Regions from separate parts of the Homo sapiens genome. Here region 1 is linked to region 2. The links are contacts of gene promoters, found by promoter capture Hi-C in human tissues and cell types (Jung and others, 2019). All regions are on one chromosome and are shown on one strand. The core of a region is centred on a gene start or on the middle of the fragment in contact, and the rest is flanking DNA. Distances in the headings are between cores, read along the strand shown.

The links. Contacts are between HindIII fragments. The study calls those that stand out against the background at their distance.
Region 1: a contact is called between a fragment that was not itself captured here and the fragment with the promoter of FAM91A1 in region 2, in 1 of the 25 tissues and cell types used here (mesenchymal stem cells).

What each region holds. Positions count from the first base shown.
Region 1 is chr8:123,550,015-123,552,771 of GRCh38, reverse strand. No RefSeq gene overlaps it. Among named protein-coding and RNA genes, the nearest start is that of FBXO32, 10 kb to the right of the region's middle. The HindIII fragment of the contact is 3,908 bases long and covers 1-2,757 here.
Region 2 is chr8:123,767,178-123,770,071 of GRCh38, reverse strand. FAM91A1 (family with sequence similarity 91 member A1) reads right to left here and starts at 1,633. Exons shown (of 24, transcript NM_144963.4): 1 at 1,298-1,633. The coding sequence starts at 1,369. RefSeq lists a silencer at 1,298-1,447. The HindIII fragment of the contact is 9,142 bases long and covers 1-2,894 here.

The sequences.
Region 1 (2,757 bases), core at 200-2,699, 220 kb after region 2:
AGTCACATACCTGACCCTGGCTGGACCACAGCAGAGAGTGAAAAGATCAGGTCTTTTTAGGTCCCGTTTTTGGAAGTGAGCATGACCTCCCACCAAGGCTGCACACAGTGAAGTATCCCCTAAAAATGAGGGGGCTAGCAGAAAATGGGTTCTAACCAGATGGCAAAAAAAATAAGATAAATTTTTACCATGAATTCATTGACTTACTGATTTTAGGTAATTTCATTATTTGTTTGTTTGGTTGAAATAAAGTTTATTATAACTACTTTATAGAGAGAACTAGCACGATATATATATTCATAACATTTTTAAGGCATTTGAAAATGGAACATGTACAGGAGTGCTGTAACCACTGGCAGAGAAAGACCATCTTATTCAAGATGGGTCAGAAAGGTGAAGGTAACAAGAACAGATCCCTTCTGAATGTTGTTCCAAATACAGTTCCTGCCTCTTCTTCTGGGCAGGTCTGGGCAATTAGGAAGAAGTCCTTCCAGCAACACAGGCAATCTCCCCAGGGGCAGAGGAAGCACAGAATTTGTTCTGTTCTCTGCCCGAAAGTCAGTGAAAGTGAAGTCTCTCTCAGAACAATGAGACTGCAGTCCTCAAGCTTCCACTCAACCATTTATTTCTTCTTTTACCTAAACCAGAATCTTATTTTTTTCTTTTTTGTTTGCTTTATTTTTTTATTACACTTTAAGTTCTAGGGTACATGTGCACAATGTGCAGGTTTGTTACATATGTATATATGTGCCATGTTGATGTGCTGCACCCATCAACTCGTCATTTACATTAGGTATATCTCCTAATGCTATCCCTCCCCCCTTCCCCCACCCCATGACAGGCCCTGGGGTGTGATGTTCCCCTTCCTGTGTCTAAGTGTTCTCATTGTTCAATTCCCACCTATGAGTGAGAACATGCGGTGTTTGGTTTTTTGTCCTCGCAATAGTTTGCTCAGAATGATGTACCTAAACCAGAATCTTGAAAGGCCCTGCTTGGCACTTCCCTTTCCTCATCCCTTGCAAGGAGGCATTCAGGGTGTCCTGCAGTGTTTGCCTCTTAGGTGTGGCATGAGTCTGTCCCAGCTCTCCATGGCACTCCCAGTTCTGCTGCTCATCAACTGTTGCCTGGAAACAGCCACATCCTCCTAACTGGTCTCTTGCCCCCTGTCACGTATTTCTTCTATCCATCTCTCTACTCGGCAAGAGAATCTCCCTACAGCACTATCTGCCCATTGGTGGTCTCCTGCTTACAGCTCTTCCATGGCTCCCATCATTTCAGACAAAGCCCAGGCTTTCCAGTAAGGCACATGGAGCCCTCTGCAATCTCACCCTGGCCTATTTCCCCATCACCAGCTATCCTCATGCCCTGCTCCACATCCTATTCTTCACCATGTCATATGCTGCTCCTCTCCTCTCCGCCATTGTTCCTACTGTCTCCTCTCCCCGGAATGCCCACCCACTCCCATCCTTACCTCCATTTGCTTGATTAATTCCTACCCGTCCTTTAAGACCTGGTTTGAGACCAACTCCACGAAGCTTCCTCTGACTATTCCAGGCTGATTAGGTGCTTTATCCTCCTAAGTGCTCTAATGGTGCCCTGTATCTCTTTCTCTCTCTCTCTCTCTCCCCCCCCTCCCCCCACCTCCCTACCTCCCTCTTTTCTCCACCCCCTTCACTGCACATAGGCTCGGCTTTAGGTATACATATTAATGTCTCTCTCTCTCCTTACAGCCTGTACACTCGCTAAGGGTAAGTGTTCATCTTTGTGTTCTCAAAGCTGCTTTAGAAGAGCACCAGGATCATAGCAATGGCATGATGCATCCCTGTTGAGACAATGAATGAGTAATAATTTGTAATATATTTTACCACCCCAAAAATGCTCTAAAACAGAACTAAAGATAGGCATTCCTATTGCTTAGCTGATAGAGGAGGGGAAAAAATCTAAGACATGCACCATCTCTTCAAAATATACACAGTTTCAAGACATTAGCAGAGGTTTTATGGCATACCACTTTTAGCAAAGCAGATGTTTAAAATACTAAATTATTTATTAAATTACTATCAACCGTGGTTGAAAATATTATGTCCCTTAAGGGACTGAACTTCTCAGGCTGTAGTTGGAATGAAAGAGAAGATGAACATTCTGTACTTCTTTTTAAATCACTTTCTTCTTCCTGAAATGAATGCAGTATTTAAAAGAAATCAAGGATTCATTTGCTTTTTATTCTTATTGAATCGCCTGAGAGAAGCAGTAAGACGGCTTGCAGTTGATGGGCCACAGTTGACACACACTGAAATCTCCTATGTGCCAGGAATCAGGTTTTTTTTTTTGTTTTTTTGTTTTTTTTTTTCATAAAATAACCTTTATACAGGATTAGTAGATCTGTTTACATACAAAAAACAGAAAGGACCTCATTACTGTTAGATTTCACATAAATTACACATTGACTTTTAAAAACTACTATTCAACTTCATTTAAAGTCCCTTTTAAGGATAGCATTAGGAGAAATACCTAATGTAGATAACAGGATGATGGGTGCAGCAAACCACCATGGTACGTGTATACCTATGTAACAAACCTGCACATTCTGCACATGTATCCCAGAACTTAAAGTATAATAATAAAATAATAATAAAGTCCCTTTTAAAAATTTCATTTTTGCTGGGTACCGTGGCTCATGCCTGTAGTCCCAGCACTTTGGGAGGCCTAGGCGGGTGGATCACGAGGTCAGGAATTCGAGACCACCCTGGCCAACAT
Region 2 (2,894 bases), core at 384-2,883:
CTGAGGCAGGAGAATCGCTTGAACCCAAGAAGCAGAGTTTGCAGTGAGCGGAGATCACACCACTGCACTCCAGCCTGGGCAACAGGAGACTCTGTCTCAAAGAAATGAAAATAAAAATAAAAATAAATAAATAATCCTTATATACCATCACCGCCACCATTCCAAACTTCCCAAAAATGCCACTGCCGAGTGCCAACAGAAAACTGAATTTCACTCTCGACCAAGTATAATGGGAGGAAGCGAAGGTCAATCTATGACCAGAGCAGCAGTGCGTTATCTGTAGCCCATATCACTACTTTCGTAAGACTTAAAACCATCTGCTATGTTACGTATTTATTCATTTATTTGTTTACGTCTTTCTTTAGTAAAATGTAAGCTCCATGAAGGCAGTCTTTGTCTTGTTGACTGTTGCAAATTACCTGCACCTAGAGCAACGCACAGCACCTAGTAGGTGGTCAATAAATATCTATTAAACAATTGAGTAAAACAGACTAAAAAAATCGAGAATTAACTTTCAAAAACCTCATGTCACTCTTGTTGAAACATCTCTGATAAACCCATCTTGTCTGGAGGATAAAGTCCAACAAAACAAAGCACACAAGCACCTTCAAAATCTGGCCCTGACCACTTTTCCAGGCTCATCTGCTACCAGCCCCGCGCACTCAAAAAACTTCAACTCCAAACATGTCAGTCCAAACTCTGGTGATACAGTCACTTGCTACTCATGAGACATGTTCTTTCACTCATCCAAGCTTTGTAAAATGACTTTCCCTCCCCCTGGAAAAATCTTTATTCCCTCTTATTTAACTCTTATTCGTCCTCCAAGGCCCAATTTAAGTGCCTGCCTTAAAAATCCTTCCAACTCTCCCAGGATAATTTCTCCCTCCCTCTGCTCTCACATATACTACAATGCAGGTGTGTATGAGCTGCTATCATCCTGTATCGTATTCATTTGTTTCCCATCCCTTTCCCACCATCCTGAAATTCCGGAGGTCAAGGACCGTGTTTAAAATCTCTATCGCAGGTGCCTGGCTGAATGTATCCTGCGGGCAAAGGCGCCAGTCGAGTCCTGTGGACACCATGCCATCCCATTTAGCGATCGCCCCGTCCTGGCCCTGTGGCCCCACAGCCGTCCCCTCCTCGCCCTGGGCTGAAGGTCCGTCTCCCCAAGACCACGGAGGAGTAAAGGAAGGGAGTCAGCCGGCAGCAGCCCGCTCGGGCCCCGCGAGCGAGGCAAGCAGGTGACCGCTGGGCGGGCCGAATCCGTCAGGGGCCCGGTCCCAGGTTCCGGCCGTACCTGTCTCACGTTGGCCGGCAACTTGTTCCAGGGGTAGTTGTGCCGGATGTGGAACTCCACGTCTATGTTCATGATGCCGCGGCCAGGGCCGGCGGCCGGGGCCGCCACCGCGACCCACACTACGCCTCCCGCCTGCCCGCCCGCAGCCTGTCAGCGGAGCGACGCGGGAGGCCCCGCGCCTCACACTGCAGAAGGCCCAGGCTGCCCCATGGCCTAGGCTCCCGACAGTTCAGCGCCGCCCGGGCCAACCGAGTACAAGAGCAGCAGCGATTGGAGGCTGGATCGCCTGAACAGCTCCAAGTTTCTTCCTAGTTTCGGGCCGCCGGAAATGGCTCTGGGCACACGTCACTTCCGCCCGCTGGCGCGCGGCCGGAGGGGCGGGGCACGGACTGGCCTCTAGCCACGCCCTCTACAGGCTGCGGGGCGGGGCGACGACGAGGTACCGGGAGGTGCCCGGGTGAGCGTTCCCCGCCCGCGCGCTTCGTCTCCCCGTTTCAGTCTCTGAATGAACGGCGATAGTCGCTTGGGTCTGCGTTGCCGTTGCTGATGACCCAGTTTACTCAAATTGTAAAGCCGGAGGCACTGGGGTCGGTTTTCAGAGAAAAGCGACCTGGGAAGCGGGCCGGCAGTGGCTGGCTTTACATTGGAGTGCGGTGCGCTCGCGGGGGTTCTCCACAGGCCAGCCCGGAACCCGGGCCAGTGAGACGGGGCGGGGGGTTGCGGGGACGGGTCCAGGGCCCTGGAGAAAGAAATAATCTCTAAGTCAGGTCTCGCACCGGGTTGAGCGAGAAGCATGGGCAGTGGGAGAGCAAAGGTCTGGTAAGCCCTCTTCCCTTCCGCGGTGTGCTGCACGTCATTGGGCTCCACTTCCCAAGAAGATCCAAATTCTTACAATGCAGGGATTCAGGGAGCTGAAATTTTAAACAGTGGTGCTGACAGGTCGAGGCAGCCTACAGGGCTGACAGAGAGATACCCTTGCCAACTTTGTCATGCAGCCTGTCGGTTTCTGCTTTATTCTGCTCCACACAAATGCCTCCAGAGTCACTTAAAAGCAAAAATCCAGCATGTCTTAATTTCAGATTGAGTGATAAGGTCTTTGGGAATAATTTCTTTCAGAAGTTGTTACGCTGCCTTAGCAAACCCGTGACCATTATTCCTGGCAGCAACCAGAGACAAGTTCAGTGTTATTGCAACTGTTTTTCAGTTTTTAACAATGGTTTTAAATAATGTTTTATTATATACTGGGAGATGTATACTTAGAACTTTTTATAAGATACCTAGCTCACACCTCAACAGCTGGCAAGTCTGATGCTTAGCAGAAACCCCATTATGTCTGATGAAATAAAGGTGACAAGTACACACTGCCCTTGCTTAGATGTTTTGGTCTCCTATTATCCAACTATAATAACCCAAAGATAAGTGCTTTGAACCTTATGTTTACAGATCCTCATCAGCATAGCTAAGGTTAACTGAACTCTAACCGTGAGACATTTATTCAACAAATATTGATTACCTGCCCGCCATGTATTAAGGCCTTGACTTGACAATAGATTATTCCTCACAACCCTGATATTCCTACAACAGTAACCACTTACTA